Regions from separate parts of the Homo sapiens genome. Here region 2 is linked to region 1. Evidence: promoter capture Hi-C in human tissues and cell types (Jung and others, 2019). All regions are on one chromosome and are shown on one strand. Each heading gives the region's core, a stretch centred on a gene start or on the middle of the fragment in contact. The rest is flanking DNA. Distances are from core to core; before and after follow the strand shown. Region 1 holds the start of COA5 (cytochrome c oxidase assembly factor 5). Region 2 overlaps LOC124905591 (a long non-coding RNA gene).

Region 1 (5,019 bases), core at 1,084-3,583:
ACCCAAAGGAGAAGCTTTATTGTCTCAAAGAATCCCATGTCCAGCACAAAGCCAAATCCTATAGTGGACACTGAAAGAAAGATTCACAAGATTCATTTAGGGACTCTGCTAGGTTCTGGAAATACAGGACACATCCCTTGCCCTCCAGATGCCCAGGCTAGTGGGAGAGACAGGTCTTTAAACAAAACTCCCAAGATGTGTGAACACTACCTTGGGACACAGCGTGGCCACTGAGAGAGTTGAAGTTTCCTGAGGTGGGCCCTTGCCAGGCTGATTCACCACGGTGGCCTCAGTATTTAGAACGCCAGTGTAGAGAAGGCACTAACATAGTTTAAGTCCAGTTAAGGTGCAAAACACCCTATAAACTTCAATATCTTACCCACTTCAACACCCTACAGGTAAATGAGACCCTTGCATTATGGAATTGGAGAACTTCAGTTTCTCAGGTTCCCATCAATACCTTTACAATTCTCACTGTGGATTTGCCTGTGAAATGCAATTTCCAGTTTCATATTCCTATTCACAGTCAGCTGACATTTGGGTACCGATTCAAGTACTTAAAAAGATATGGAGTGAATCTTGTCCCCTGCTTTTCAATGTCCTAGGGTAACAGTTTACTCTGGCATCTGCTTGGGACCTGTAGAACCAAGACTACAACTTTCTTTCCTGTGAGATTTTTTGAGGCTTCAGTAAAAAGGAGAAATAGTTTCCAATATTTCCAGATTCTGACCCACAACACATTTATAACAAAAAATCTAATCAGAAACACTCAGCGTTCAATTCTATCTCAGATAAACACACTTACCACAGAGCCAGATACTTAACAGGACCAAGAAAGCAGGGTCATCTCTGGCCCACTGGTCCTTCGTCTGTTTTCGATAATGAAAATTTCTGTAAACTCTCTGTGGGGATGTGAACAGGTAGAGCATCTGCCAGGCAGCAAATTCAAAGTCCATTTGCCGAAAGCGGAAAAGCCTTCTCAGATATTTGTAGCGTTTCGCTCCGGCTGTGTGTCTTGCCGCATCCCTGGAATTCAAGACTCCGTTCCCCTGCACTAAGGAATTCACTGAAGTACTCGGTAACATCTTCCTAGATGGAAGAAAAACATTTCTTTTACACGTATTCTGAAGAAACATTTGGCTACCGACACTCCTCTTCTGAGTTATTTGGCAGGGAGGTCACTTTCCATGTTCTTCCCAACCCTAGAGAAAGGCCAGGAGTCAAAAGCAAATGCAGTTAGTTCTGAGGCGGGTCTTGGGGCTTGGGAACCGCAGACTGCAACCTCAGGCAAGGGCAACAGCCCACCCTTCTGAATCACCTAATAACACTTATCCAGGGGCAGCTACCATTACAGAGACAGGGATGATGTGACTGCCCCATGACTCCGAGGATAGTGATAGAGCCAAGATTGGAAATCTGACTCGAAATTCCGTGCTCTTAACCACCAAGCTTTTAAGAAAATGCCTAAGAAAGCAGTTTCAGCCGGTTAGAACAGTGTTACTGAAGAGGTCAAATAAATGGCCTATTCACACAGATCCATCAGCGCACTGCCAGCAAGCTTCTCGGTCACTAGAATGAGATTAAAAAACCAAGAAAAACTCCGATCCCTAGTGTTTTACATCCGGAATAGTTCAGCAGAGGGAGCGGTAGCGTCGGAGTCCAATCCAACCGGTCCGAGCTCCGGGGAACGCCGGCCACTGCCCGGCTGCCCGTCTCCCCTCCACTTCGCAGGCCCCCCAGACGCCGGCAGGGTCTGGCCGAGCCCAGCTGCTCCCTCCCTGCCCGGGGCCGCGGGTACGGCTGCCAGATTTAGCAAATAAAAACACAGAATACCCAGCTCCATTTGGATTTCAGACAGGCCACGAATAAGGTTTTAGTATGCCTACATCCCACGCAACATTTCGGACATGCTTATACTAAATGCTCTTTCTTTATCTACGATGCAAATGTAACTGGGCGTCCTTTCATTTTAGCCGCAACTCTATCGCCGGCCGAGGGGCCGGACGCCGACATGGTCACTGCCAGGCCGCAGCGACGTCAGGCCGCAAGCTGTCGGGATTAAATGGCCCCCGGCGCGAGCCCGGGCCGCGGGAGGGCAGAGTGGTCCTCAGGCCTCACCTGGAGTCCTGCTACAGCCTCGACCCACGTCCGAACCAGCCCACCACCTCCTCCCAGCAGCCGACCCCAGCCGCCACCGGGCGGGCTTCCCTTCCCTCAACGGAGCCGGCCCTTGGGGCGCGCCGCGTCACGGGAACCGACTTCCGCCGCGGACGCGCCACCTCTCGGCCCCCGTAGTCCTCGGCCCTACCGCCGCGGCCCGCCGGAAGTTGTTGCCGCTGGCTTCCGGTCCCCTGAGACTGGGGCCTCGCTCGCTCCCGACCCGGTTGCAAGTGTTGCGGTGGGAGAAAGTCGCGTCCGCATCGGAGGGGAAGCGCCGTCATGCCTAAGTATTATGAGGACAAGCCGCAGGGCGGCGCGTGCGCGGGCCTGAAGGAGGACCTGGGCGCGTGTCTGCTGCAGTCGGACTGTGTGGTCCAGGTAGCGCGGCCGGGCGCTCCCGGTGGTGACGACCCCTGTCCCAGGCAGGCCTGGCTCGGCGGAGGGCAGCGGGTCGCCCGCGGCGGCGGTTGGAGTTAACCATCCCGGGCGTAGGTCACAGCTCGGGCTCACTGAACGTGCGCAGATCCACTGAGCTGTCGGAGCCCCAGTTCCCTGTGGGGTTAAATCGGAGATAACGATAAACGCACCCTGTCGGGTTTTTGTAAAGGTTAACCCATTTCAGTTCACGAAGCCTTTATTGAATGCTAGCACTCTACTAGGCTTTGGAGACATAAAGGAGAATAAGCCAGGTTTCTTGCCTGCCTAGAAATGATAATCTGTAGAATTAATGATTCCAGAGAGTTGCGTAAACCTGGTACACTGCCCTGGCCAGTAGTGTCTCCTGCCTGTTCAGTTGTGACAATGTGTGCTCAGTTTGACTTGTGTTGATGTGAATTTGTTTCTGAGTTACAGTTCTCTGCATTCTTGGATGTTAAGTTGTAAAAATAAGGCAACTCCATATTTTCACGATTTCGTATCTTGCTTCCCCTACACTCTTCCTTCACTCCCCGGCTACAGACACAGGTCTCCTCAGCACCCTCTTGGAATGCACTGAAACATGTAGTGAGGTTCACAGTGGACCTGAGTTCTGGATTAGAGCTCAAGTAAAGCACAAGTGCCTTTTCCAATTGCAGAGGCCCGACGAGAGGGCATTCAATTGTGTGCAATTGTCTTTGCATTGGGGGATGTAGTTTCAGAAAGTTGCTGTTATTTCAGAGAAAAGATTACCCCCAAATGGACATCCACTGTAAGACTGTACCAGTGTTTCTACCGAGTCACAATTTGTTTGGTTCACTGATTTTAGCAGTCAGCCATTCTCGCCTCCCAATGTCTAGTAAAACTTGAGTTATTATAAATTTAAGAGATTATCTCGCCCAACTTCCTTATATAAATGAGGAAACTGAAGTACCGTTGTTTTCAGGCTCCCCTGTCCAGGGCTGTGTCCCTTCTGCCCCTTACTCACTGGTGCTGCCGTTCAGCCAGCTCCTGGTAAATGCCTCTTAAGTGGCAGGCATGGTACCTGACACTGGTGATAACGAAGATGAATCAGTAACAGTCACTACCCATGTAAGCTTGGTGTCATGGGAGAAATAGACATCTAAGGGTCTAAATTCCTGCCATAAGACTGTAAGCATTTATTAAACATGTGTTTAATGACTAGATCTTGAGGAGAAAAATGCGTTAGCCCAAGGGAGAGCGTCTGATTTTGCTTCAGAATTTGGAATCTTCTGAGATGACATTTGAGCTGAGTCTTAAAAGTTGAGTAGTAGTTTATCAAGTAAAGGAGTGGGAACTGTTGTGGTTGTGGGGAAAATCTGAAAGAACAGCAAGTGCAGAGGCAGGGAGATGTGGGAGGGCGCAGAGGAGCTAGTGTCCTGCCATAGGGGAATGCGACAGAAGGCCTGAGGGGAAGGTTGCAGCCAGGTGTGAAGGCCTGTATGTGTGTCAGAGTGAGGAGACTGGATTTTATCCAGACGTTCAGCATCGGAAGGCCATGTTGATGAGTAGTCAAGGGAAGAAAGTACACTGAGTAGGACTGAGGAAAGAAACTCCAAGTGGAGGACAATAGCAGCAGCACAGAGAATTCCAAGCTGGCTTTCTGCAGCGGTTGATACAGCAAACATGTACGGAGCGCCAGGCTCCAGTTCAGGGAACAAATACTGATGAATGGAACATGGTCTCTCCAGTATAGAAAGCGGAGCTGTTTGGCTAGAATGCTGTAGGCAGAGATTATGGTTGGGACAGCTGGTACAGACTTTGCTTTTCCCGCCATTGAATATGTGGCCTTACCAGTGCTCAGTTTGGTCAGCCAGAAAACGTGATGCTTATAAGCAGTTCTTTAGATGGAAGTTCGTATACAGTTTGTGTTAAATTCATTCTGAATGCTGACTTCAGCTGGATTGTAAAAGGGCAATAGTGAGGAGGTTTGCAGGTCCAGAACAATCTCCTACAATCTGTTGGCAGCTACTGCCCACTGCTCCTCACTGGGGACTCTGAAAGACCAAGGAAAGCTCTGCTGAGGTCTGTGCTTGCTCTGTGTGGCAACCTTAATTATGATGGAAATTTTTGATTTCTTAAGTTCTTGAATAAAAAGGTTAATCTGATCCTATGGCAGGTTGGTGCTGTAGTCTCTTCTTGCCAGTCTTTAACCCACCTGAAACCTGCAGCACCTCGCTCTAGGGAGGAATTCAACATAAACATGTATTTAGTTCTAGGTGCTGCTTTGGGAGACTGTCAAGGAGTTAGAGGGCCTCAGAGAAACTCAGGGTAATGGTAAGGATGTAAATTCCAGTGGGGCTGGAGGAAAGCAGGGAAAAAGCAGATTCAAAAGGCATCTCTTGAAGAGACTTCTTAGGATTTAATGACTCCTGGATGATCAGGACAATGAAACTCTGCCAGAGGAACTTCACTCATCATAGG
Region 2 (5,019 bases), core at 1,684-4,183, 610 kb after region 1:
ATGTCAGTCCTCTTGAGGAATCATTTCATTCACCTCTTATGATATTACTATATTGATCCATGCTATCATTTTACTAGAGGAGTAGAATTTTAATTCTGTAGTCTTCGACATTATTATGAGATTAAAACAATAATTATAAGAGTGGCCTGCCATATAAAACACCAAAGATATATACAACTTTAATTAAATGGACCCGAAGACGAAACAAAAGACGAGACCCTGGCCTGGAAGTCATGTCTCTGCCCTGCCATGGTCTTGGATAGGTTTCTTCATTTCTGGGCCTCAGTTTTCTTTTTTATAATAATGATTATTATTATAACAGTGACATTGTTGAATATCTGCCATTTGCTAGGTAATTCCATGGTACTTTAGTTTATTCAATTCTTACAACTAATCTTCAGTAGTTATTTTTACCCTTTTTTAAAAACGTGAAACTGTGGAAACTGAAGTTTAGACAGGCTGAGTAATTTGTCAAACCATAGCTGGAAGTGGAGGAGATACTTCCAAAGCCAGACTCAAATAAATATTTAAGATCCATTTCTTGTTCTAAAATCCTATGGCTATTTTGGTGTAAGATGATTCACAAGAAGCAAAATTACATTGTCAAAATGAAAATCATATTTACTCCACCAAAAAGAGCAGTTCTCTTACTGGCAATCATATTTTCCAGTGTGATAGAACACATATTTTATGGAGATCAAAGACTCTGCTATTAATATTTCCTTGCCTGCATAAACTATGAAAGGGCTTCGAAGCATCAAACTTTTATGACAGTGCATGGTAACCATTGTTAATGTATTGTATTATTGAAAATTGCAAAGAGAGTAGATTTTCAGTGTTCTCACCACAAATAAGAATGTATTAGAGGTAATGCATATGTTAATTAGCTCAATTTAGCCATTCCACAACATATACATATTTCAAAACATCATGTATACAATAAATATATACAATTATTGTTTGTTAATTTAAAAAATTAGTTTTAAAAACTTTAGGACTGAATACAGATGCTCACCGTAATGTAGACTAAAGGTGAAACAAAATTATTCCCCTTGAGATTTTGCACAGACTATTTCTTTGCTAACATTTTTAAGAATAATTCAAACACTTGTTAATTCATGGTCATAAAGACTTCTGACCAGCCATGGTGTGTGGTTTTAAAATATCAGATTTATTTTATTTATTTGTTTGTTTTATTTTTATTTTTTTGAGATGGAGTTTTGCTCTTGTCACCCAGGCTGGAGTGCAGTGGCACAATCTCAGCTCACTGCAACCTTTGTCTCCTGGGTTCAAGCGATTCTCCTGCCTCAGCCTCTCAAGTAGCTGGGATTACAGGCATGCACCACCACGCCCGGCTAATTTTGTAATTTTTTTTTAGTAGAGACGAGATTTCACTATGTTGGTCAGGCTGGTCTTGAACTCCTGACCTCAGGTGATCCACCCGCCTCGGCCTCCCAAAGTGTTGGGATTATAGGCGTGAGCCACTGCACCCAGCCTATCAGATTTAAAATACTAAATTTAACTTGTTAAAGTACCAGAAATTAAAGTAATAACATTTAAAGGAAGTAGAATTTACCTTCTGGAAAACACTGCACAGGTACGTGTGTGCGCTAGCTGTGATGCCTGCCCTCAGACCACCCTGCAGAGGCCATGCAAAATGGCCAATTCTCGATTCTTCATTTAGGGAACTCACACCAGACTTGGCAGAGAGAATTGTGTCTCTCCTACCTTATATTTGTCTCTGCAATTGTCATTATTTTACTGTTTTAATTTTTTCATTGTTTCTGGTATTTATCTGCATCTTGAATATGTTGATCTTTGCCTTTACTTACTATTGCTGGGAATTTTACAGTTACAAGCAATTAAATAATAGGGAGAGGGAGAAACACAAACATCCCTCAATACATTGTTCAATGGCCTTTTTTTCCCCTGAATGGCTTTCCATGGCTGTTAGTTTCCACCAAGCAATGCAATATTAAGTACAGTTGAATGACGGGTGAGGCAGGCTTCTTTAATAATGGTGTTTAGGAACATTCAGAAACTCAGGGCAGCCTAAAAATCAACTTTAAAGTACTCATCAGTACTAGAGAGGACAATGGTAAGGGGAGGTGGAAGGAACAAGAAAAATACTAGGGTATTATTTCCCTCCTTTTAATTGAAAGACTACCAAACCACATGACATTTTTCAAAAGTCACAAGATTAATAATTAAATGTTGCAGGAGAGAAAAAATCAGAGTGGCGCTGGAGCCTATTGTGGAGGAGTTGAAAGGGCAGGCCAAGATTTTGATTCATGTTAAACTTGGCTGTTTGTCCCAAAAAACATTTCTAAAGAATGCCAGAAAAATAAATATAAGCTTATAAACTGTGTCAGTCAGCTTGGAAGGAAAATATTGAACAAACCCATCATTAATTCTCACATCTAAATCCAGTATGTTTATTAGTAAAGGTATGTATGTGTTGTGGTAGTGGTCATTGATGAGATCTTAGTTCATGTAGATTTAGAAATTGCAAAGGAATCTAGTTTTCCTGAGGAATATATGAATAAGGATCTTCAAATATGGGATCCACACTGATACAGAGCTCGGCCCACATGCTCAGAAGCTACTACCCTCATCCTGCTGCATGAACTTGACTGAGGTCTATTTGCCCTACCCTAGGTTACCATAATTTACTACTAAGTTGAACAGACTTAAACCTTAGGCTTCGTGAGCTGACTTTTTTTAAGAATAACACCCAGGGAAACCTCCCAAGGAATAAGGGACACAGGAGACAAAATAAGCAGGTTACTCTTCATCCTGAATAAGACAGACAAGATGCCATATTCCTTCTTACTCGCTTGACTGCTGTGGGCTTCAGACTAGATGAAAGAGACAGAGAACTGAAAATAAAGAAAAATCAGTTAAAGAACTTGAAAAGGCTGGGTAAATAAAGAAATGAGTAGAACCCAGAGTTGCCTTCATTTAATACTCCTCCTCTTTCCTCCTTTGATTCATTTCTTCCTATTCTACCATATTTTGTATATGTCTCTTATTTACCAGATTTGAAGCTCCCTGGAGGAGAAGGACTATGTCTTCGTGATCTTTATCTTTTAGTTCTGTTCATTCATCCATTCATCTATCCATTCATGTAATAAGTGTTATTGAGTGCCCAATATGTGCCAATATTGTAGAAGCTCGGAATTCATCAGTGAGCAAAACGAATGGGGGGAAAGATTGGTAATAACAATACATTTAATGAGTAAGTAAAGTATATAGTATTATAGAAAGTGATAAGTGTTATGGGGGGAAAATGAGTGCAAGGTAAGGAGGATTGGGTCTTGAGGGTAGGTGTAATAAGCTGCAGTATTAACAGTGGTGATCAGGGTATGCTTCGCCAAGAAAATCATAACTGAGCCAAGACTGAGAGGAAGTATGACAGTGAGCCCAGCAGAGAACCAGGGAGAAGGGGGTGGGGAGAAAGCACTTCAGGTGGAGGGCTAGAGGATAGACCCTGGAGTAGAAGCATTCCTGATATGTTCCAGGAACAAAATGGTGGTCATTTCAGCTGAAACAGACCGAGCCTGGAGGAATCCAGGAGGAATGGAAAGACCGGGGCAAGCCAGATCAAGGAAGCTTTTACCCTGAGATGGGTATTCAAATATTCCCTGTTATTGCTTTTTTTAATATACAGTCTCTAAAAATTAAAATTTCACTTTCCCCAACTGCTTTTAAAAACATTAAGCAGGCCACTGCAGGATGTGAACATTGAGAGACGTGACATGTCTTATGTTTTAAATGGATCATGCTGGCTGTCAGGTTGACAATAGACTATAAAAGTACAAATTTATGTCAAAATATAAAGCAAAGCCCAACAAAACTCAAAAAAAAAAAAAAAATCAAAGATGAGTTTATATACTGCCAGGGGTGGATGTAAACACACCAGTGAAAAAGTTCACTGAGTAACTCATGAATTAGGAAAAGTCAGGGTTTTTTAAGTGTGAGAAAGAGAGAAGGGAGTTTGGAGGTTATGCGGATTAAGGGCTGGAAAGTAGTGCTCTGGATAGGTTGGAATAGTGTTGATAAAACATGTCCCTTTGTTAACTGGTCAGAAAGGAGTCTTTGGTTAGGTCTAACAAGGGTCTGGTATGGGGTCACTCAAAGTTCACAGTCCTTGATCTGCTTCAGTTGGTTAGAACCAGTTGTGGTAGAGCATAGCATTCCGTTTTGATATCTACTATGCAAGTGTTGTAAGTGGAAAATTTTCTTTTACAGGTGGAAACAGGGAAACCTGTTAGGAAGCTCTTGCAGAAATCCAGGCAGCGGATGACAGGGCTCATACCAGAGTGGAGTAGTGCAGGTGGTGAGAAGCAGTTAGATTTGGGTACATGTGGAGAGAGTAAAGAATGACTCCCAGGTTTTTGGCCTGTGCAACTGGATGGTTGGAGTTGCCCTGGAGATAGGAAAGGCTGTGGGTGAAGCATGTTTGCATGGGAAGATGTGGAGTTCATGTGAGTTTAAGACACCTCATTATACACCTGAGTGGGAACAGCAATAGAGACAGCGAGGTCTGGCTGGTGACATGAAGTGGGGACCTGAAAGTGTATAGATGGTGTTGAACGGCAGGATACCAGGTGCATTCACCTATGCAGCAAAGGAGATAGAACCCTGGAAAGCCCAACAGTTTACTCCCTCCTAGTTCCAGTTTTAATTCATAGAAGGCATTCTTGCACACCTCCTTAAGTATTTTGTGGAATGAAGTGGAGGTATCAATGGATCAAGGATCTTCGTGCCTAATGTGGTGTTTTGAAAAGAGTGAGTGCTCACTAATAGCTACTTTTGACAGTCTCCTATGTCCCAGACACTAGTCTATATGCTTCACAAACCTATATGCTTAATCTCCCCAAATTTATATCATAATCCCCATTTTTACAGATTAGGAATCTGAGGCCAGAAAAGTCATTTGCTCAGCATCATATAGCTAGTAAAGGCAGGGATGGGATTTAAGTTCAAATTTGTCTGAGTCTCTTATAATTCTGCCTT

What was found. The method cuts DNA at HindIII sites, captures the fragments that hold promoters and counts their contacts. A contact is called where the count stands out against the background at its distance.
Region 2: a fragment that was not itself captured here is called in contact with the fragment with the promoter of COA5 in region 1 in 1 of the 25 tissues and cell types used here (mesenchymal stem cells).

What each region holds. Positions count from the first base shown.
Region 1 is chr2:98,605,826-98,610,844 of GRCh38, reverse strand. It overlaps COA5 (cytochrome c oxidase assembly factor 5), which reads left to right and starts at 2,333. Exons shown (of 3, transcript NM_001008215.3): 1 at 2,333-2,538. The coding sequence starts at 2,440. It overlaps UNC50 (unc-50 inner nuclear membrane RNA binding protein), which reads right to left and starts at 2,256. Exons shown (of 6, transcript NM_014044.7): 1 at 2,119-2,256; 2 at 806-1,089; 3 at 1-70. The coding sequence starts at 1,085. RefSeq lists a silencer at 2,029-2,128 and an enhancer at 2,192-3,181. The HindIII fragment of the contact is 3,715 bases long and covers 733-4,447 here.
Region 2 is chr2:97,998,913-98,003,931 of GRCh38, reverse strand. LOC124905591 (a long non-coding RNA gene) reads right to left here. Exons shown (of 2, transcript XR_007087148.1): 2 at 1,991-2,879. Among named protein-coding and RNA genes, the nearest start is that of TMEM131, 5.5 kb to the right of the region's middle. The HindIII fragment of the contact is 3,554 bases long and covers 1,157-4,710 here.